7 separate regions of the Homo sapiens genome follow, and all the other regions are linked to region 2. The links are contacts of gene promoters, found by promoter capture Hi-C in blood cells and fetal thymus (Javierre and others, 2016). All regions are on one chromosome and are shown on one strand. Each heading gives the region's core, a stretch centred on a gene start or on the middle of the fragment in contact. The rest is flanking DNA. Distances are from core to core; before and after follow the strand shown.

Region 1 (3,120 bases), core at 435-2,934, 1.5 Mb after region 2:
GTGTGCCACATCCAACTCTTTTGTTCAAAAGAAATTGCTTTTCCACTTTCTGGAAGCTTTTGATGTAGTTTTGAGCATACAGAAGAGGGCTGGTTTATTCTAAGTATTGGGAACCCCTTCCTAAGGTCAAACTCTGAGGTTTAGGATGTCAAAGCATAGGCTTATCAAAAAAGCTTCTGATCACACACACACACACACACCGTTAATGCAACATTGACTTCCTCTAACAAGGCAAGTAGGGAGAGAGACGATAGCGGGAGAGATCTGGCTGGTCAGTCTTTCTCTGCCTCCTTTGCTGCTGACCCCAGGCAGTGTGTCTATGACCTCAGCTAGCAAGATTATTTTCTCTTGTCCATAGAAGGAGGTTGGACTCTCCCCCATACTGCATGTCAAAAACTGTAAAAGCCAGGTCAGCATTCTTCAAAAAGATTTATGAGATCAATGCTCCGTGCTCAGTAACAGTAGAGCAGAGCAGTCTGGACTTCTATGCAAAACCTTTCCTTAGAGAACTGGGGGTTACAGCAGCAAGCAGAACTGGGGGTTACAGTATTAGCTTAGATACACATTGGTGCCTCCACAGGCTTTCTTTCCAATGCAGACAACTTGTTTACACTGCTTGCTTTTTGAGTATAAACATTAAAAAAACTTTTCTTTGTTTCTTTTTTTTTTTTTTTGAGACAGGATCACAGGATCTCAGGATCTCACTCTGTCACCCAGGTTGGAGTGCACTGATGTGATCTCAGCTCACTGCAACCTCTGCCTCCCAGGCTCAAGTGATCCTCCTACCTCAGCCTCCAGAGTAGGTGGGACTACAGGTGCATGCCACCCTGCCTGGCTAATTTTTGTATTTTTTGTAGAGACAGGGTTTTGCCATGTTGCCCAGGCTGGTCTCGAACTCCTGAGCTCAGGTGATCCACCCACCTTGGTCTCCCAAAGTGCTAGGATTACAGTCATGAGCCACTGCACCCAGCCTAAAAACTTTTCTAAAAGACAACATATTCAAAAATAAATTTCATGGGAACATTTTAATGACATTTCTTAAGTTAACATGTTTCTGATTTGTCAAAGTGAAGTGTAAACACTGTCCAAATGTAAACACTTTCGAAGTGTAAACACTCTCAAAGTGTGTTGGAGAATACAGATCCTCTTATGTGGAAAGGAGTAGTGAGGCGGCCTTTAAACACTTACACAAAACACAAGCATTGCAAAGACATACTCTATGCGATAGAGAGGCAACAGGATCCTGAATGAACAGGTGTAGCCAAGGTGCTCTGCCAACGTGGACTTCCTGGACTGTGATTGGAAAGAGCAAAGGCTTCTTTCTTTCTTAAGCCACTGCATTTTTAAATTTCTTTCTTATAGCTGTCTAACCTTTATCCTGACAAATACACTGAGTAAAACAGAGCGAGTAGACAATCAACATTTGCTGAATAAATGAATAAATGTATAAGCAATGTGTTAGTGAATACAAATTTCCTCATACATCTAGGACAATGTAGCATCCTATATTGTTTTATTTGTTTCTGGGACAGTGTCTCCAAAGATAGCTCCAACCTGAACAGGGTCACACTGAGTCACATTGTGCCTGGGTAGGAGTGCCAGCTGCAGAGGGGGGTGATGGGTCCACCTCTGTGTCATGCAACTGCTAGTGTGACACTGAGAAATTAGGGTAGGAACTCTGGCCTCCAGGTGTTCTAAGAAATACAGACAGCAGCATCACCTACTACCCCCATCACAAATGTTTATGTGTCAGAGGTTTTTAAGAGAAAAATTAAGCAGATGGTAAAATAAAGACTTGATTAAATGTGATTTCTGGCCGGGCGCGGTGGCTCACGCCTGTAGTCCCAGCACTTTGGGAGGCCGAGGCGGGTGGATCATGAGGTCAGGAGATCGAGACCATCCTGGCTAACAGGGTGAAACCCCGTCTCTACTAAAAATACAAAAAATTAGCCGGGCGCGGTGGCGGGCGCCTGTAGTCCCAGCTACTCGGGAGGCTGAGGCAGGAGAATGGCGTGAACCCGGGAAGCGGAGCTTGCAGTGAGCCGAGATTGCGCCACTGCAGTCTGCAGTCCGACCTGGGCGACAGAGCGAGACTCCGTCTCAAAAAAAAAAAAAAAAAAAAAAAAAAAAATTGTGATTTCTATGCTTTGTCTTGTATGCACATTACACTTTTTGTGTGCAATCAACATGTATGCCATTTCTTATGGATAATGAGCTCATTTTGCCAGATCCATTTACAGCTAATAACAATCAGCAGTTACAATTATTGACATTCTCTTAGTTGGCAACTTCTACCACAATGAACATTTATTGTCAACTCTAATAGATAGAGAAAACTGTTGCAGAGAGCTACTGAATTAAGTCTTAAGGTAAAAATAGTCTTTTTTTGACTGTAGACATTTTGATCCAACCACTACAAGAAAAACATTGGAGTGGATTTCTCAGAAGAATACGGTGTTTACTAGGATGAAGGGGGAAAGTGAGCCGGGAACCAGTAGGATATGTGGGATGCAGGATATAATGGAACTGTTCACATGTTTTAAGATGTATTACAGCCCAGGTTGTGTCTAAATATTATCTTAAGTTTAAGGCCAGGCGTGGTGGCTCACGCCTGTAATCCCAGCACTTTGTGAGGCCAAGGCAGGTGGATCATTTTAAGTCAGGAGTTCAAGACCAGTTTGGCCAACATGGTGATACCCCGTCTCTACTAAAAATACAAAAATTAGCTGGATGTGGTGGCATACACCTGTAATCCCAGCTATTAGGGAGGCTGAGGCAGGAGAATCATTTGAACCCAGGTGGCGGAGGTTGCAGTGAGCCAAGATCACACCACTGTACTCCAACCTGAGTAACAGAGCGAGACTCCATCTCAAGAAAATAAAATAAAATAAAATGAAGTTTAGAGATCATGTAAATGAGTCCCATTTTCTGTGCATGGCTAAATAACTGGCATGTGACTACTTTAACTAGGGGATGTACAGGTTACCTTATTGGAAAGACAGTCTGAGGGTGGAAATTCTGACTCATCTGACCCAAAACAGTTACTGGTGGTCATAAATTGTAAGTGTCTACCTTCTTGAAACCACTACAGTTTTAGATTTCTTTGTTTCAACAGCTTAG
Region 2 (3,347 bases), core at 533-3,032:
TACAGACAAGCCACATAAAATCTGACAGGTTTACAGACGAAGGAAAAAATACAAACACAAGCACACACCCATATAAATACGTTTTAACAAGCTCTCTCACTTACCCTCTAGGTACATTTTAATTCAAATAAATCTTTGAGTACTGACAAATCTATATAAAACCCTCTTCGTGTTAGGAACCACCTTAAATGTGTATGTGTTAAATATGTTTAGAAAGAAGCCAGGAAGATATTTGCACTTAACCCTAGCCTAGTTCCATGACCCACTTTTTTTTCTTCTTTAAACGTTGTTGGACAAAAAATGTCATGAGTATTTTCTCTCAATATTTCTCCTGTAAGTGTATGGAAGTCATAAATAAGAGTTAAAAAAAAAAGAGTTTAAAGGTATTTCTCTTTTTTTCCTTAAAAAAAGTTAGCTTGCTTTTTATCTTCCAATTACTTACGGGCAAAGTTCCATGGGCCTGTGGGGGTGTAGAGTGCTTAAGTGCAGATAAATCAATACTGAGCTTGTAAGTACAATACTATTATGAGTAATAACAATGACATCCTATTAAATGTACTTTTAAAAATAGCTTATTTTCAATACACTTCTTGATTTTTTTTAAACCGAAGGCTGTATTCTACTGAACAGCCTACTTCAAGGACAAGCTTGCAAAAAAAAAAAAAAAAAAAAAAAGAATTTGCTATCAGGATACCTACTTACAACACCCTAAGATGTCATTATTCCACACAAATTAGCTTATTTTCTTGTGTTTTCCTCTAATTATCAAAGGCTATATAATCCACGAACCCTTTCCCCAAATCAAAATAACTCCAGATCACCTCAAGGTAGGAGGTGTTTAAGAAAACAAGCCAGAATTAGATAAAGTAAAACTTACTTTATTAAATAGGATGGACACCACTTCTCCCAAGAGAACTGTCTCCAAAAGTAAACAAGAAAGATCAATCTGGTAAACTCACATCATACAGGTTCCCGTGTAAGGTATCGGGTTCAGGCAGGTGGAAGCCAAATGATCGTAATTAAAGTTAATTAACAGGCCAGTCGTCTTAACGTGGTTAACAAGCAGGGTGCGGGGCAGCACAGACACCCGGGCAAATTCATGATCTCTACCGAGTAAATAACTTGGTGCCTGAAACTCACTACAGCTTCTTCTTATTTAAAGGTAGGGGAGAGGAATGGAGGGAGTGTCCAGCTGTCTATCCGGATCCTCACCCTCCCGGGTCAAATCCCAGAAGTGGAGTTCTTGGATCACTTACCGGCTTCTGGTTTCCTTTCAGACGCCCACACGCGGGAGCGAAATCCAAGGGGCGGACACCAGAGCCGAGCACTTTGCGCTGAGGAAATTTACCCGGTGAAGTGTCGAAAAGCCCCAGCCCCTCCAGACAGGGTCCTCCCACCCCCGCGTGGGCCATCCCGGCCCAGCCTTCCCGAGGCCCCGGGTACTCGCCTTGCGCTCGGGTCGCGGAGTTCGAAAAGCGAGGTGAGGCGGCGCTGGGAAGCTCAGCGCCGGCGTCTCTCCCAGCCTTGGGCGCTCGGTCCTCGCCCCTCTGCCGGAGGCGCCAGGCCTCCTCTTTCCCGGTCCCCGCCGGCTGTCCGCAGTCGCCTCTGCTGCCTGGCGGCGGCCGCGCGGGCGGCGCTGTTAGTGGGGCCGGCGTGTCGCGGCCGCCGCACCTGGAGGCGGGGAGCGCGGGCCGCGGACCCGCGCTCAGCTCCGGAAACGCCGAGCCCGGCGCCCGCGCCTTGCTCAGGTGCTCCCGCGCCTCGCCTCGGCCGCCGCTTCCTCTCCGCCCGCGGGGGCGGGGAGCAGGCGCCCCGCGCGGGGGAAGCCGGAGCTCAACGGCGGGGGCGGCCCAGCCGGCCTCCCTGGTTCCGCAGCATAGTTGGGTGACTGACTCAGACCGCCGCGACTTGGCCGCGCCTGGCACCCTCGCCACCTGGCGCACCTCGGCCCGGAGGCGTCAGACCCCGCTGGGGAAGCTGCGGGGGCGCGCCCTGGAGCCCAGAGCGACAGGGGCATTACCCACCTTCCCGGGACGGAGATGCCCAGGACCTTGTGTTGGCTCCTCCTGGCCAGTGGGTTTGTCTGTGCGCACTCATGGGGGGTTGAATGTCAAATGGGCGGAACCTCGCCACGACTGATTATTAGTATTACTCTTCCAAGTACTTAAAGTGTTAGCTCAGCGTTTCCCAAACTGAAGACTCATCTAGGGCACTATTTTCCCCAGGCTGCTTCTATGTAAATTTGCTCCTTCTTGCACCTGTGGCGGTTAGATCCCAGAGGGGCATTTCCCCTTTGAGTTGGACTCTGACAAAGGAGGCAGCGAAGGAAAATAGGGGATCCCAAAGAACCCTTGTGGACCTCCAAATATCTAAGCGTCCGTAAAATCCAGTTATTTGCAAGTGAGTTCACAGACCAACTACTTTTTTTTTTTTTTTTTAGACAGGGTCTCACTTTGTCACCCAGGCTGGAGTGTAGTGAGGCAATCTCAGCTCATTGCGCCTCCGCCTCTGGGTCCAAGCTATCCTCCCACGTCAGCCTCCCAGGTAGCTGGGATTACAGGCGCGCACCATCAGCCAAGGTAATTTTTTTTGTATTTTTGGTATAGACGGAGTTTCGCCTTGTTGCCCAGGCTGGTCTCAAACTCCTGACCTCAAGTGATCCACCTGCCTCGGCCTCCCAAAGTGCTGGGATTACAGGCGTGAGACACTGCCCCCTACCAGCTTTTTTTTTTTTTTTTATAAACATCTCCCACAGACTACCTGAAATTCTCTTCATTAAAAGGTGAAATGTATTTATCTTTCCCCTGTTCCTGTTGATGGAAGTGAAGCAATTAAGGAAAGCGCAGACCTTATGAAAATGAGATAATTGGTGAAGTGCGGAAAGAGAGAGGCTTCCCACAAGCCTGGGCCCTTAGGATTCTTCAGTCATCACCTTCACCCACACTAACTACCTGCCCAAAGCACCGTCTTTCCCTGGGGAGACTCTGAAGCAGCTCTGTCTTACTAGAGACACCAAATATCCAGTTCCTTTTGAACTTAATACCTCATAGCCGACCTCATTTCCACCAGGAAAGTTTTATTGACATTTTCCAAACCACGGGAACTTTTTCTCTGGATTCCTATAGCATTTATAGGAGGAATTTTATTTATGTGGCTCTTTTCTGGCTTCATTCTCTGTGTGTGTGTGTTTCTTTTGTTCTTTTTCCCTTTTCCCTCTCCAAATTCTCACATACTTCTCTCTTTTTTTTTATCTCTCTCTTTTTTGTTTTTGTTTTTGTTTTCGACTGAGCCCCGCTGTATCGCCCAGGCTGGAGCGTGGAGAGCAGTGGCGCGATCTCAGCTCACTG
Region 3 (3,129 bases), core at 298-2,797, 1.4 Mb after region 2:
ATGTGGATTTCTAACTAAAACAGGAGAGAATCCCGGACCTAGAAATTAAACTATAAATTAGAAGTTGTAGCCAGAACCAGCTATAAAATTTGCAGGGCACAATGCAAAATGAAAAGGCAGGGCCTTCTGTTCAAAAATCGTTAAGAATTTCAAGATGGCAACAACACAACATTAAATCGATTGTGGAGCCCTCCTAAACACACAGTTGCACAGGTCACACACTTATAAAGCCAGCTCTGGTTTTGTAAGTTAGAATGTAACAAAATGCTTGAATCAAGAAATCTAATCAAAATGTAAAATGTCATTTCAAAATTGAATCATGTTTCACTCTTTTCCCACAGATTGGACTTAGTATTAAAAAGATGGGATCGTTTTTGGCTGGGCGCAGTAGCTCAAGCCTGTAATCCCAGCACTTTGGGAGGCCGAAGCAGGCAGATCACGAGGTCAGGAGATCGTAGACCATCCTGGCTAACACGGTGAAACCCCATCTGTACTAAAAATACAAAAAAGTAGCCAGGCGTGGTGGCGGGCGCCTGTAGTCCCAGCTACTCGGGAGGCTGAGGCAGGAGAATGGCGTGAACCCGGGAGGCGGAACTTGCAGTGAGCCGAGATTGTGCCACTGCACTGCAGCCTGGGCAACAGAGCGAGACTCCGTCTCAAAAGAAAAAAAGAAAAAAAAAAAAGAAAGACGGGATCATTTTTAACAACACATTTGAATTGTATATCTGTTATGGCTCTTCAAATATAAAAATCTAGTACTTAAGCCTTACCCATTATCTACCAGGCCCTTTGTTTTACAGATGAGAGATGGTTAAGTGATCTGCCTGACATATCTACTATGAGCCAGGGTTGAAACCCAGGGCTCTGAAATTTCTCTTCCTAAACTTTCCATAACACCTGCTTGACACACTCTCTATAAATGTCTTACTTTCACGTACCCCGTATACATGCATTTGTATGTCTTGTTAAAGGAATGAAGGAAGGGTAGGAGGAAGAGAGGGGGAGGGACGGAGGAAAGTGAAGAAGGGAAGGAGAGAGGAAAGAAAGAAAATCAAGCTTAAATTATTTTCCATATCCTTAACCCTACAGATTTATTCATACAATTTAAATAGCTTCTACATATGTATATCTAAAAATCCACTGTTTTATTTTAAAAGTAAGAACCCCAATGTAATGGAACTTCTATTCTCTATTATGAAGGGAATGTCATATTTCTTCTGAGGACATAAAATGGAAATCTTAAAACTAAGTTGTATTTCCATTTTTTCAGAAACAAAAGTAGAGTTTTAATAATTCTTAAGAATAACTGTCATTAATTAAAAACAATAATCCTCATTCTGCCCTTAGATTTAGCCCAATCCTATGGTGGGAACTCTTTTTGTATTCTTTCATCAATTCCTCACAATGATTTTATATTTAGGGAATCATTGTTAACACTCCTCACTTCAAAGCTGAGGGATTAGGGCATTTACCTGAGTCACATGGCCTCTCCCTGGCACCACCAGGATGCAAATCCAGGATCAGCTCCCTTGGGCCCACACTTGCAACCTCCTCTTGCACTATTCTGCCTCTGAAATGCAGAACTCCAGCCAACTAGCTCCTCTTTTGCAATCTAAAGTATTGTTCTCATATTCCTTCATTGCATGTTTAACCTAGCCTTTTTGAACTCTGTTTCAACAATTGCTTACATATTTTTCCTCAGTGAGAATAATTTATTGATTGATGGGAATGGATTAAAAATCAGAGTGTATAGGATCAAATTTACAAACATATACAATGTGATGTCCTTTCTGATTTTCATTGTTTTCAGTTTCTCTGTAAGGATTCAGTTAATCATTCCCCTTAGTAGAAACCTTTCCTGTTTTCCTCTGAACTGCTAAGCTGGTGATTTTCATCACCATCATTTAAATGCATAAGCCTCACTAGGCTGGTATTTACTCTAATTAATGTTGAACATGCTTCCGCAGAAGGCCTCTGTAGGATTTCTTTTGTGATTTAGATGTACTCATCTCTCTTTTTGAGAGGTTATATGCAGGAGATAAGCTTACATTTCTTTTTAAAAAATATGTCTGAAGGGGAATAAAATATTTTACACAATCTGGGGCTATTTTGATATGACAACAGATATGTGCTGTGTTCCTAGTACTGGGCTGAGCATGAGGGGTTGGAGGGGAGAGTCACTACAAGCTTAAGAAAAAGATTCTAACTTTGCTTTTAAAGTTTTAAGCCTACCTGGGAGAAAGGGAACTGTTGCATAAGTGAACAGAAATGGCTGGCCAGGCGCGGTGGCTCACGCCTGTAATCCCAGCACTTTGGGAGACTGAGGCAGGTGGATCACGAGGTCAGGAGATCGAGACCATCCTGGCTAACACGGTGAAACCCCGTCTCTACTAAAAATACAAAAAATTAGCCGGGCGTGGTGGCAGGCATCTGTAGTCCCAGCTACTTGGGAGGCTGAGGCAGGAGAATGGCGTGAACCCGGGAGGCGGAGCTTGCAGTGAGCCGAGATGGCGCCACTGCACTCCAGCCTGGGCAACAGAGCAAGACTCCAACTCAAAAAAAAAAAAAAAAGAAATGGCCAACAGCCCAGGGGTCAGGGGACACAGCCCTGCCAAAGATTCGCTCACTCTACTCTCTGCAGCTTCTTTTGGGTTGGTCTTCCAACCTATAAAATACAAGGATGATAGGATGATTTCTAAAGGTTCCCATCCAGCCCTAAGATTCTATACCATAATGAGTAATCAAATGATAGGGGTGCTAAGTCAGGCTAGACTGCAAGGTTTCTCAACACTGTGGACATTGTTGGTCCAGTAATTCTTTGTTGTGGGGGACTGTTGTGTGCACTGTAAGATGTCTAGCTACAATCCTTGACCTTTACTGACTACATGCCAGTAGCTCCCACCCCAGCTGTGACAACCAAACATATCTCCAGATATTACCAAATGACTCTAGGGAACAAAATCACACCCAGTTGATAACCACTGAGCTGGAGAAATCCCAAGAAGATCAAAAGAATTGTACTGGAAGCTCTTGAGCAAGGTTTCATGAAAGAGGTGCATCTTGAGCTGGGTCTTAAAGGACTGGGATTGATGGAGAGATGAGAAATGTGTATGAATGTATGTACAGTAA
Region 4 (3,259 bases), core at 446-2,945, 1.5 Mb after region 2:
TGCCCTCATGATCCAATCACCTCCCACCAGGCCTCACCTTCAACATTGGGGATTATAATTCAGCATGAGATTTGGGTGGGGACACCGATTCAAACCATATCATCTGCTGTGCCAGTCCTAATGGTGCTTCAACATCAGGCAGTGGCTGGACCCACTGTAACCAGAGGCCCAGGCCAAGGGAAATAAGCTTCAAACCTCAGGATCCCATCTGGGCCTGCATTTGCTGGCTGCCTACCTCAGTATTCACTCTCCTTTATTCCTTACTACTTGAAATGCTGCCTTGTATTTTGGCATGTGGCTTCCTGGAGAATAAGAAACACATTTCTACACCTCCTTGCATCCAGCTGAGTCAATATTACTAAGTGCTGGCCAATGAGATATAAGCAGAGAGGCATGGAAACTTTCAGGAAGCCTCCTCAAAAGTCAGCTGCATCTCCCTTGGCCCTTTCTCAATTCTGCTTGGGAAGATACTGTGACTGGTGGTGCTATTGTTATCATCTTGGACCCTGAGGCAGAGGGGCCACACACTGGGGATGATAGGATGATGAACTGAAAGTTTTGGCAGGTCCTCAGCAACTTTGTGGAGCCACCATCCCAGCCCTGGATTATTTATCTCTGGACCTTGTTTTCAAGTAAGAGAAATAAACTTCAACTTTGTATAAGCCACTGCTTTTTTTTTCTTTTTCACAGATAAAAGGCAACTAACAAATATGCCAACTCTTAAATAAGAGCTGGAATTAGAGTCACTGGTGGCAAGCACAGAAAATCTGGGAAGAGGGAGAACACACCTATTGTACCATTGTTGTACGTTCCTTGATCTTGTCATCTCACTGGTTTCCCACTTCCTCACAGTCTGTGAATACCACCTTAATAAACTATTGCAGGCCTATTTTGGAGGTCTAAAATTATAATTAATTAATTAATTAATTAATTTTCTATCTTCCCTACTGAGCCCTAAGTTAGTATTCTCAAAGTCTGGTCCATTAACTACCTGCAGGAGAATCTCCTGGGGAAGTTATTAAATCTCTGCAGCCTCATGCTCAATCCCAGACCTATCACAGTAGAATGCCTCCAGTAAGTGTCAGGAATCTGTATGTTTAACATGACCTCCACCTGATTCTTATGTCCACTTAAGTTGAAGGCTACTCCTGCAGTCTCCCTTTGTGTGTCACTTATTGGTTTGCCTTTAAAAATAAGTTGCCTTGGCCAGGCACGGTGGCGCATGCCTGTAATCCCAGCAAATTTGGAGGCCAATGCAGGTGAATCACCTGAGGTCAGGAGTTCGAAACCAGCCTGGCTAACATGGTGAAACCCCATCTCTACTAAAAATACAAAATTAGCCAGGTGTGGTGGCGCATGCCTGCAATCCCAGCTACTTGAGAGGCTGAGGCAGGAGAATTGCTTGAACCTGTGAGGCAGAAATTGCAATGAGCCGAGATCATGCCATTGCACTCCAACCTGGGCAACAAGAGCAAAACTCCATCTCAAAAATAAACAAATAAATAAGTTGCCTTTGTTTATCATGTCTATATTCCCCAGTGCTTTGCCCTGGTGGGCCATAAATGTGCAGATGAATAAACAAATTCTATATTTGTATTTGTGAGTTTTCATTTGTAAATTTTTGTCATGTACACTATCTCAGTCAATTCTTATATCAATTCTTTGGCATAGCAGGGAAAGGGTTATTGTTGTTGTTTCACAGAGACCAAAATAGAGCTGAGATAGTAAGTGGTCTTTTTTACTATTTTAGGGTTTAAAAAACTAGGATTCAGACTGAGATCTCACTCAGAGGTCAAGCCTCTTTACTCCACACCAGCTGATCCTGGGTGATATAGAATACGCATTTATCTAAAGATCTAAAAATGCTTTATTCTGAATATCTCATTCATCCTCATAATATAACTATGTATTTGATATACATTCATAATCAACCATCTATATATGTATCAGTCTGTTCTTACACTGCTATACAGACATACCTGAGACTGGGTAATTTATAATGGAAAAAGGTTTAATTGGCTCATGTTTCTGTGGGCTGTACAGGCTTCTGCTTCTGGGAGGCCTCAGGAAACTTACAATCATGGCAGAAGGCAAAGGGGAAGGAAGCAGGCACATTTTCACATGGCTGGCAGGAGAGAGAGAGAAAAGGGGGAAATGCTACACATTTTTAAACAATCAAACCTCATGAGAACTCACTCGCTATCACAAGAACAGCAAGGGGGAAGTCCGCCCCCATGATCCAGTCACCTCCCACCAGGCCCCTCCTTCAACACTAGGAATTACAATTCAACATGAGATTTGGGTGGGGGCACAGAGCCAAACTATATCAACATGTAACAAGCAATTCACCGTCTTTGCAGCCAGTGTCACATTGCGTGAAAATCTGGTTACTGATATTGCACGGAGATATGACCATTGCAAGTTTCTAACCTTGCAAGGTACGATTCAACATTTCAATTCAAGTCAACACAAATTAATTGAACTTCTACAAAGTGCTAGATGTTGTATTAGATAGTGAGACACAAAAACAAAATGAACAAATATAGCTTCTACTGTTAAGGATGGAAAATTCTGGATGTTGAGAACAGAAGACTACTTTAGGCACAATGCCAAGGTTTTGACCAAAGTGTCAGAGTCCTCAAAGTGGGAGATTTTAAAGATTTGCTTGTGGAGGGATTTGCAGTATTGGCAGTGCTAGTATCTAGCTGTTACCCTGGTGACGGACTACATTATACTCTTGTAACTTCAACTGTGGACTCATAGGGATCATTATTAATGTGCTTCAAATGCGTAAGCCTTGAAAATATACATCTAACTTCAGAGGCAGATGTTGTTTAGAACTGGGTTTTCAAAACTTGCTGTATAGAATCATTTATGATAGATGAATCCCCCACTGCCAAAAAACCACACAGGAAGTCACAGACAGATGGCAATAACAGAAGCTCTAGGGAGCACATAATGATGTTCCATATGGCATATTGTGTGTGGCTCATAAAAGTGGCTCTAACATCCAGAAATGAATTAACCAGAAATCACATAGGAAATAAATCTTTTTGTGACCTTCATTACAGTCCAGGAGTCCATTGCAAATCAGCACACATTGCAGCAAGAATAAGTATGACAGAGGTAGGGAAAAAAACCCACAAATTTAAACGAAAATGAAATGCAAATTAAACAATCAGCAACAATTTATATATACTTGTAAAGCTTTAGTAGGCTAGTAGAGCTAGATTATAGTTCTAACTATTGGTTGGAGGGA
Region 5 (3,273 bases), core at 719-3,218, 1.5 Mb after region 2:
TAAAAGAGTGTGGCATCTCCCCACTCTCTCTCTCTCTCTCGCACCCTCTCTCTTCATGTGACACACTTGCTTTCCCTTCACCTTCTTCCATGAGTAAAAGCTTCCTGAGGCCTCCCCTGAAGCAAAGCAGATGCTGATGCCATGCTTCTACAGCCTGCAGAGCCATGAGACAAATAAACTTCTTTTTTAAAAACAAATTACCCAGTCTCTGGTATTCCTTTATAGAAACACAAAATGGACTAACACACTCTCTATTCTTAATGGGGAGAAAAGCTAGAATTGCAGTGAAATGAAATGTTTGTGAAGAAAATCATGACTGACTTCCATTTAAAAATGTTTTTTACATTTAAAAATATGTGAAGTTCAGCTGGGCACGGTGGCTCATGCCTGTAATCCTAGCACTTTGGGAGGCCAAGGCAGGTGTATTACCTGAGGTCAAGAGTTCAAGTCCAGCCTGACCAACATGGCGACACCCCCTCTCTATTAAAAATACAAAAATTAGCCAGGCATGATGGCGTGCGACTGTAATCTCAGCTACTCAAGAGGCTGAGGCAGGAGAATTTCTTGAACCCAGGAAGCAGAGGCTGCAGTGAGCCAAGATCATGCCACTGCACTCCAGCCTGTGTGACAGAACAAGGCTCTGTCTCAAAAAACTAAAAAATAAAAAAAAATGTGAAATTCAATGTGCCTGATGATGCTGCCAGAAAAGAGAAAGCTAGCCTGAGTAGACCTTCATTCAGTTCTACCCTTTCTTAAAGTATGTCCTGTGGAAGCTTAATGCTGAATTAAAGTCTCCTAGAAACCTTATTAGGGGATTTGGGTCAGGGACAATAGTTGTTCTTCATGACCTTCTTTTGTAACCTCCTAAAGAATGCTGTCTATCATCTCACTAGGTTCACAAGGCTTGTTTTGTCCTTTGTAGTATCTCCCATGGCCCATCCAAGGGAAAAGGAAGTTCTTGCTCAAAGAAAGTTTGTGCACTATGCAAATGCAGTGATATCATTTTTCATCAGGCTGAACTAAACAGCACACAACAAAACCAAGAACCTACACCACTGCTTGTGCACTTACATGCTAACATAAACTGTACAGATTTATAGTCCCTGATGTGTACAACATCCCTTATGTATTAGTCTGTTCTCATGCTGCTAATAAAGATATACCTGAGACTGGGTAATTTATAAAGGAAAGAGGTTTAATGGACTCACGTTCCTTAGGGCTGGGGAGGCCTCAGGAAACTTACAGTCATGGCAGAAGGAGAAGCAAACACGTCCTTCTTCACATGGCGGCAGCCAGGAGAAATACAGAGTAAAGGGGGGAAAAACCCCTTGTAAAACCATCAGATCTTGTGAGAACTCACTTACTATCATGTGAACAGCATGAAGATAACCACCCCCATGGTTCAATTACCACCCACTGAGTCCATCCCACAACACAGGGGGATTATGGGATCTACAGTTCAAGATGAGATTTCGGTGGGGACACAGCCAAACCATATTACCTTACATATGTGAATTATCTTGTTTGCTTCTGAACAGAACAGTGGTAACTACAATTGCTCTACATTTTACATTTAGGTGGATCTTAAGGTGACAAGATTTTACTCCTTTTCACAATTTTTGTGATGGGACAATAAGCAGGAGAGGAGAAAAAGGCAAAGGAGCATGTAAAAATAAATGACCTGTTTTTTACTATGTCCCCTTTCTCAGTAGAATATGAAAACTTCCTGTGTGGGTCCTTTTATGGCTGCTTCTAGATTTTCAAAGCTGTCCCAGCTGAGACGCAGGCAAAGAGAAGAAAGAGGCTGGGCTGAAAACCACTGCAATTTCCTGGGGAGAGAGTGCCCCCGGATGGGCCATTGATCTTCATTGTTCCTGCTAGACAAATAGACTTCTCAACATCAAATAAAACTTTACTTGATGAAGATTTGTTTGGAAGGATGCTTTGTTTATATTTCTTTACCCTTTTAGATATTACCTACAATTTCTGAGCACATGTGCCAAGATAAAAGAACTTAACAAGCAAAGAAAAAGGGCGTTTTTTTCTATAGGGAGAGGTTCTGAAAAATCCAAGAACATAAGACGGGTTTGTATACTGGCTGAACAACATGGGGTGGCTAAACTGGTTGTGTTTCTAAATTCTTTCAAACAGGCAGAGTTACTAATTTGTCTTATCAGATGCTCAGCATGATAAATCTAAACCAAATTATCCTATCACATGAAGTACTCTTCCCTTAAGAATCAATTAAGCATTGGAAAAATGAGAATTCTTACTTCTATGCAGAAATGATACTGTGTGGTTAGCTAAAACTAGGACTGTGTTAGCAAAACACAGACTGTATTAGGACTATGATTTGTGTACAAATCACAAAACTGATCATTCCAAAGAGAATGATAGAACAAGGGTAGCCTGGGAGTTTCTGAACTAGCATTGTAACACAATGAGTCAGTTGGTGTATCCCTCAATTCGGCTGGATTAATTTTTTTTTTTTTTTCTTTTGAGACGGAGTCTCGCTCTGTCTCCCAGGCTGGAGTGCAGTGGCGCGATCTCGGCTCACTGCAAGCTCCGCCTCCTGGGTTCACACCATTCTCTTGCCTCAGCCTCACAAGCAGCTGGGACTACAGGCGCCCGCCACCACGCCTGGCTAATTTTTTGTATTTTTAGTAGAGACGGGTTTTCACTGTGTTAGCCAGGATGGTCTCGATCTCCTGACCTTGTGATCTGCCCGCCTCAGCCTCCCAAAGTGCTGGGATTACAGGTGTGAGCCACTGCGCCCGGCCTCAGCTGGATTACTTTATCCCCAATACTGTCACCCTACTAGTTCCTGTCTTGCAGTGAAAAATAGCAGATCTGTGAGTCCAGGAGCTGGCTCAGGTTGGGGTTCACTGCTAGAATCACCCAGGTTGCTTTTGATAATGAACTCTATCTTCAGTCTGCAAAGTAGGTCGTGGGAGAACAAGTGAATTGAATATTGTTCATGAACTTTTATCATTTAATAGGGCTTCACTATAGAAAAAGTAAAAAATACAGGTAAGAATAAAGTAAAAGTTTTTTTACTTTTAAAAACTTTCCATTACCAAGAAGAAATCCTCTCCACTTTTTAGTGTGCGTTATATCCATCTGGATTTTTCTTTATAGTGTAAGTATGGTGAAAGCATGTGACTCAAGCTTTGATTCCAAAGTCAGCTAATGTGTTAGTCCATTTTCATGCTGCTGATAAACACATACCCAAGACTGGGTAATTTATAAAGAAAAAGAGGTTTGGCCAGACAC
Region 6 (3,502 bases), core at 519-3,018, 1.4 Mb after region 2:
TTTCACTGTGTTAGCCAGGATGGTCTCGATCTCCTGACCTCGTGATCCGCCCACCTCGGCCTCCCACAGTGCTGGGATTACAGGCGTGAGCCACCGCGCCCAGCCGGGAATGGTTATTTCTAAGGCCTCCTTAATGCAAACAAGAAAATGGCCCAAATTCCTAAGGGACTTGACAAATACTATCTATTTCTGAGATGTCCTGAGAGTCCAAAGCTGTAATGTTCTTAAGATGTAAAAAGGAATTCACAGTACCAAAAGCTGATGCTTCAGAAATGACCTAATAAATAATTAAGACCACCAGCCATGACAATTGTTAACAGCAGTGAATGTTTAGCAGATACTCTGTGCCAAGGATTGACTTATGAACTACACATATATCGTATCATGTATGTCCAGCAACGATCTCATTTTAAAGATGAAATAACCGGGGCTTGAAAACATTAAGTAACTTGCCCAAAACCATTGGTAGTTAAGTGGCACAATTAAAAGTAAGGAGTTTAAAACCCAGCTTTTAATCACTGAAATAAATTACTAAAATAAAAATCAATACAATAGTCTGAATAAAACAAAAATAAAAACAGATGTCTAATATTATGAATTTTTGTTTTGATAAAAGAAATGCTACTGTAATACTGCAATACTACTAGAAAAACACATAGGAGGAAAGTTCCATGACACTGATCTGGACAATGATTTTTTGATAAGATCCCAAAAGCGCAGGCAACAAAAATGGACAAATGGGATTTCATCAAACTAAAAAGCTTCTGCAGAGCAAAGCAATCAACAGAGTGAAGAGATAACTTATAAAATGGGAGAAAATATTTGCAAACCATACATCTTATAAATGGTTACTATCCAAAATATATAAGAAACACAAACAACTCAAAAGCAAGAAAACAAATAACCCAATTTAAAAATGGGGCAAAATGGGAAGGGAGGGTTGGGGAGATGATGGTCAAAGGACATAAAATTTCAATTAGGAGGAATAGGCCATCAAATCCAAATTTGAGCAAAAACCTCTTTCAGGAAAAATTACAACTCTAAAGACTGTATCAGAAATCTATTGCACAATATGGTGGCTACAGTTAATAACAATGTATTGTATTCTTGAAAAATGCTAAGAGAGATTTTAAATATCCTCACCACAAAAAAATGATAAATATATGATGTAATACATATGTCAATCAGCTCAATTTAGCCATTCCATAATGTATGCATGTTTCAAAACAACATGTCGTACATAATAAATATAGATAATTTTTGTCAATAAAAATAAATAAAATGTTAAAAAAATTGTAATGGGCAAAGATTCTAAATAGAAATTTCTCAAAAGAAGACCTACAAATGGCCAACAAATATATGAAAAAAAGGCTCAACATTACTAATCATCATGGAAATATAAATTAAAACTATAATGAGATAATACCTCACACCTGTTAGAATGACAATTATAAAAAAAGTGCTGATGGGGATGTGGAGAAAAAGAAATTCTTGCATACTGTTAGTGGGAATATACATTATTACAGTCATCATGGAAAACAGTACGCAGGTCACTAACAAAAATTAAAAATAGACCGGGCACAGTGGCTTGCACCTGTAATCCAAGCACTTTGGGAGGCCGAGGCAGGTGGATCACTTGAGATCAGGAGTTCAAGATCAGCCTGGCCAACATGATGAAACCCTGTCTCTCCTAAAAATACAAAAGTTAGCCAGGTGTGGTGGCTTGCATCTGCAATCCCAGCTACTCAGGAGGCTGTGGCAGGAGAATCGTCTGAACCCGGGAGGCAGAGGCTGCAGTGAGCCGAGATTGTCCCACTGCATTGCAACCTGGGCGAGAGTGAGACTCTGTCTCAGAAAACAAACAAACAAATTAAAAATAGAACTACCATATGATCCAACAATCCCACTTCTCAGTACATATCCAGAGGTACTGAAATCAGTATGTCAAAGAGATATCTGTACTGCCATGTCCACTGCTGCATTATCCCAATAGCCAAGATATGGAATCTTCCTAAGAGTCCCTGAACATATGAATGAATAAAATGTAGTATAGATACATAATGAAACACTGTTCGGCCAGAAAAAAAGAAGGAAATCCTGTCATTGAAGATAAAATGGATAAACCTGGAGCACATTACATTGAGTGAAATAAGCCAGGCACAGAACGACAAATACCACGTCATCTCACTTACATGTGGAATCTAAAAAAAGTTGAACTCATAGAAGCAGAGAGAAGAAAGGTGGTTAGAGGTAGGGGCGGGGGAGGGGTTGGTCAAAAGACACAAAATTTTAGTTAGAGGGGATAAATAATTTCAAGAGATCTATTGTACAACATGGTGACTGCAGTTAATAACAATGTATCATATTCTTAAAAATTGCTAAGAGAGTAGATTTGGAGTGTTCTCACCACGCAAAAAAATTATAAGTATGTGTGGCAATGCATACGTTCATTAGCTCAATTTAGCCATCGCAGTGTACACACATTTGAAAACATTACATTGCACATGATAAATATATGCAACTTTCATGTGTCCATTAAAATCTGATTAATTTTCAATAAAAAATTTTAAAGTATGGTTATGTAAACTTACTAAATCAATGTTTCCAACAGGACACTATCAGCGAATGGAACAAAAGAGGGCAGACTTCAGAAACATGCGACACAGAATGCTTAGGACAGGATCATTTTTAAAAAGCCAAAGACCAGTGACAATGAAGACAAGGCAGTGGCATTTGGAGGCTGAAAGCAATTCAATTTATTTAACTTTGAAGAACAAAAGCTTATTCTTCTCAGGAGAAACCAAAACACATTTTCTGCAGAAAAAAGACCATTTTAACCGCATTGCCAAAATAAATCAGGCAGAGGGCAAGAGGGCAAGTTAGATGTAGCCACAAACAAGAACTCAGACCAACAAAGCAGGGTTAGACGAATGGGGAGGCCATGCCCAACATCAGATTTGGGGTTTTAAAGGGAGAAGGAACCAGAAGGGAGAGAGAGAAATCCTGCCACAGTCTTGATAACATTCTATTTAGAATATAAGTTTAGTTTCTGGTAACAAACACCTTAAACAAAAGAAATAAAAAAAGAAACCTAACCAATAAGTGGATATGCATTTGTATTTGAATATTTGAGTCTGTTCTACAATAAAACAAAACATTGCAGTAAAATTGTTTGGCTAAAAATCCAAATTTGAGCAAAAACCTCTTTCAGGAAAAAATACAACTCTAAAGACTGTATCAGATTGTAGAAGAGACACATAGCACTCCTCTCCTGCTTCACTAGCTGCATTCCAGTGCAGATCTTCTGGCTTCGTCTAGAACCAGAGAGTCTGGCCCAGAAGTAAAATTTTCAGAATTTTTCTAGTTGGAAAATCAAGTCATGTTAAATGTCCCAAACATACTTTTTTTGGGGGGATGAGATTTGAAAAGAAAAAAAACTGCAAGAAAAATTTTAATGAATACATAATTTTTAAAACACCAATGAATATTCCCTTCCTTCCTT
Region 7 (3,152 bases), core at 295-2,794, 1.4 Mb after region 2:
CTGAGTCCTGTAACCCATTCTAGGATTGTGGATCCCTCCTCCCAGCCATTTAAGATTATAGGTCAGAAGTACCAGAGCCCTGGCTTCCAACTGGCATCCCAAGTAGGGGCAGTCTTTTGGGATCTGACGCTAACTCTAGGTAGACAGAGTCAGAACTGTATTAAATTGCAGGGTTCGGGGATTTGGAGAACTGCAAAGTATGGAAAAAACCCACATCTTTGTCAGAAGTGTTGTGTGAGGATGGAGACAACCAAACAAACAAAGTGTGTTTGCCCAGCAGGTCAGCTGATAATCCATCCTTCAAGAGATATTTATCTAAATTAAAATTGACTTCCAACATTAAAGACATAATGTGTTTAAACCATAAACAAGAATGTTACCATGAGTACAGTTCAAATATCACCCCATTTGCCAAACTTAAAATGCGAAGCAGAAACCATTCATATATCATGATTGCAAATGTTTACGGATGCATGAATCCAGGAAAAGAAAACCTAAACACACGTGGGAAAAGGGTAATAGAGAGATTGTGCTTAATTTTATTCCTTTTTTAACGTAAAGGAAAAGTCATGGTACACGTATCACTTTTAAAACTAGAAAGCAAAATTTATATTAATTCCAATTTATCAAAGACAGAAAATATCAACAGAGAAGTCCAAATTGGTACTAAGTTCAAGTTATGTTAATCATTGAGACAAAAATATTTTTAAAAATGCATTTAGTCCACAAAATAGAGGATTTCAGTCTCAAAGCCGAACTCAAACATGCTAGGTTATAAACTGGTAAGAGATCAAGGCTGCATCTTATCACCAGGCTGTGGTTTTGGTGCAGGCTGGAAGCTGAAGAGGCCACAGCTGGAAAGGGGTGTGCAGCAACATCAGGTATTACCTGAGGGCCCAGGAAGGGAACCAAGGGCTGCGCAAAGGATTGGAGTCACCAGCTGTCCTCACGGGCCCCTGGAGAAACCGCAGGTACACAGATGAAGGCATGGACAGGAGAAGAGGGGACCCGGGGTTGAGAATAAGATAGAAGGCAAAGAGAACTGGGGAGCAGAGGAGAGAGGAGAAAAATGGCACCTCCGGTATTGACTGCTCAGTGGTACCTACTGGTGCTAAGCACAGTAAAAACACAAAGGCTACTTTCCAAAAGGAAAACAACATCATTTAAAAAGAAAAAGAAAAAAAAACCAAAACAGCCCTATTCGCCCATGAGTGTGGGAAGTGAGGAAATTATATAATACGCCTCCTCCAAGGACCCCAAACACCCTCTCTGCTGTAATTAAGAGAAGTGCTTACTGCCAGCACCGTCCTGCCATACCTGCTTGTGTGACTTTGAACAAGTGTCTTATCCTCTGGGTCGCTGTTTCCTAATCTACAAAATAGGGTGGTAACAGGGCCTACGTCATCTGGTACTTTTATTTTTATTTTTATTTATTTATTTATTTATTTATTTATTTATTTATTTTTGAGACAGAGTCTCACTCTGTCGCCCAGGCTGGAGTGCAGTGACAGTGCAATCTTGGCTCACTGCAGCCTCTGCCTCCCGGGTTCAAGTGATTCTCCTGCCTCAGCCTCCCAAGTAGATTACAGACATGCACCACCACGCCCAGCTAATTTTTACATTTTTAGTAGAGACGGGGTTTCACCACGTTGGCCAGGCTGGTCTCGAACTCCTGACCTCAAGTGATCCTCCTACCTTAGCCTCCCAAAGTGCTGGGATTACAGGCATGAGCCAGCACGCCCGGCCGCTACTTTGAAGAATTTATTGAGTTAATGCTTAAGGATTTCTACAAACTACCCCAGCTATATACTGTCCCTCTTTGAAAGGAATAAGTTTTCCATCCCTCTTTCATGCCACCTGGACAGAGGTACTACAGTAAGTGGTTAAAATAACAGACTATGGAACCAGAACACCTGAGCTCCAATCCCAGCTCCGCCACTTTCCAGCGGTGCAACACTGGCAACTTAGTTAAGTACGGTGGGCTTCACTTTATAACATGGGAAGAAAATGTCGAGATCACAGCATCCCTGGAAAGCCCACAGAACAGGCCCAGCACATAGCAAACCCTCATGAGTGCTATGACGTCGATACGTGAGAACTTTAACCCCTGGCAAGGTTCTCACAGTTTACTTATTTCGACTGATTCAACTGCCAGTACCCATTTCATGCATCATCACAAATTTGGCAACTGCTCCAGCTTTTAGAAGCCCGGGTCCCAAAGGCCTGCAAGCTCCCCACAGCCACGAAAGGCAGTCTGGAATGTGAAAGGCACAGAGGCAGTGAGGCGGTCATCCATGCCTTACACTGCACACTTCCAGAATGGGTACATCTTCTAGGCCAAGGACATAGTCATGCATTGCTTGGGCAAATTCAAAAGCACTTTTTTTTCATATAAAAGAAACATCCATGATTGAGTACTCAAGAACAGTATCACCAACTACTGTGCCCTGAAGGAAGGTCTCTGGAAGACAGAGATCAAAATCCAAGTATTCTGGTCTTTTTTGTTATTTTAAACATCATCCGAGTAAGTTTGGTTGTCTGACTTTATAGACTGCAGAAATTGACAACTGCATATTAGAAGACAGGAGGGACAATATCGTGTGGTTGAAAAGGATGCTGAATTTGAAACCAGACAGACAGAGCTGGGCTGCTCACTAACCATGTGAATTTAATTACTTGGAACCTTCTTTCTTTATCTGTAAAATGGGTGTAACTGAACTAACTTTATAGGGATGTTTTGAAGATTAAATGAGATTACGTATATAAAGCACCCAGATCTATGCCAAAAGCATAAAGCACATTCTAAAAACAGCAATGAAAATTATGCTCAACCATACGAAACTGCTGTTTCTCTAAGTCAAAAACCGTTGAAGAGAGTCAAACTGACAAACAGGCTGGGCAGGCAGGTGCTCTTGTGGAGTAGTGAGGATCTGGGAGTGTGGGGTGCCCAGGGCAGGGCCTGAGGGCAGAGGAGCAGGTATTTACTGATGAGTGTGGTGTATTTCAACCTTTAGACAAATGGCTCAGCTCTATCAGGCTGAGCTCTATCAGTCCACGAGCCCATGCTGGCTAAAGCACAGACAAAGCCCAGGGGAAACATTTTCTTTTAAATTGTAATGAGAATTCACAGTGTGAGAATCCACAGCTATTGA

The links. Contacts are between HindIII fragments. The CHiCAGO score rates a contact against its expected background, and 5 or more counts as called.
Region 1: a contact is called between a fragment that was not itself captured here and the fragment with the promoter of ARAP2 in region 2, in 1 of 17 cell types (M0 macrophages). The highest score is 6.0, in M0 macrophages.
Region 3: a contact is called between a fragment that was not itself captured here and the fragment with the promoter of ARAP2 in region 2, in 4 of 17 cell types (M0 macrophages, fetal thymus, M2 macrophages and 1 more). The highest score is 8.7, in M0 macrophages.
Region 4: a contact is called between a fragment that was not itself captured here and the fragment with the promoter of ARAP2 in region 2, in 1 of 17 cell types (M0 macrophages). The highest score is 8.9, in M0 macrophages.
Region 5: a contact is called between a fragment that was not itself captured here and the fragment with the promoter of ARAP2 in region 2, in 4 of 17 cell types (M0 macrophages, M2 macrophages, total CD4 T cells and 1 more). The highest score is 9.0, in M0 macrophages.
Region 6: a fragment that was not itself captured here is called in contact with the fragment with the promoter of ARAP2 in region 2 in 1 of 17 cell types (M2 macrophages); the score reaches 5.4 in M2 macrophages.
Region 7: a contact is called between a fragment that was not itself captured here and the fragment with the promoter of ARAP2 in region 2, in 1 of 17 cell types (M2 macrophages). The highest score is 6.9, in M2 macrophages.

The regions. Positions count from the first base shown.
Region 1 is chr4:37,762,857-37,765,976 of GRCh38, forward strand. It overlaps LOC105374406 (a long non-coding RNA gene), which reads left to right. Exons shown (of 3, transcript XR_001741505.2): 3 at 1-969. Among named protein-coding and RNA genes, the nearest start is that of PGM2, 62 kb to the right of the region's middle. The HindIII fragment of the contact is 3,026 bases long and covers 172-3,120 here.
Region 2 is chr4:36,242,732-36,246,078 of GRCh38, forward strand. ARAP2 (ArfGAP with RhoGAP domain, ankyrin repeat and PH domain 2) reads right to left here and starts at 1,783. Exons shown (of 33, transcript NM_015230.4): 1 at 1,448-1,783. LOC439933 (a long non-coding RNA gene) reads left to right here and starts at 1,385. Exons shown (of 5, transcript NR_122079.1): 1 at 1,385-1,480; 2 at 2,441-2,579. RefSeq lists a silencer at 1,579-2,158. The HindIII fragment of the contact is 5,605 bases long and covers 646-3,347 here.
Region 3 is chr4:37,688,019-37,691,147 of GRCh38, forward strand. No RefSeq gene overlaps it. Among named protein-coding and RNA genes, the nearest start is that of RELL1, 3.2 kb to the left of the region's middle. The HindIII fragment of the contact is 987 bases long and covers 1,055-2,041 here.
Region 4 is chr4:37,745,815-37,749,073 of GRCh38, forward strand. No RefSeq gene overlaps it. Among named protein-coding and RNA genes, the nearest start is that of RELL1, 61 kb to the left of the region's middle. The HindIII fragment of the contact is 3,020 bases long and covers 186-3,205 here.
Region 5 is chr4:37,779,169-37,782,441 of GRCh38, forward strand. No RefSeq gene overlaps it. Among named protein-coding and RNA genes, the nearest start is that of PGM2, 46 kb to the right of the region's middle. The HindIII fragment of the contact is 2,395 bases long and covers 772-3,166 here.
Region 6 is chr4:37,624,624-37,628,125 of GRCh38, forward strand. All of the region lies in intron 6 of RELL1 (RELT like 1), which reads right to left. Among named protein-coding and RNA genes, the nearest start is that of RELL1, 60 kb to the right of the region's middle. The HindIII fragment of the contact is 2,019 bases long and covers 760-2,778 here.
Region 7 is chr4:37,643,014-37,646,165 of GRCh38, forward strand. All of the region lies in intron 3 of RELL1 (RELT like 1), which reads right to left. Among named protein-coding and RNA genes, the nearest start is that of RELL1, 42 kb to the right of the region's middle. The HindIII fragment of the contact is 5,400 bases long and covers 1-3,152 here.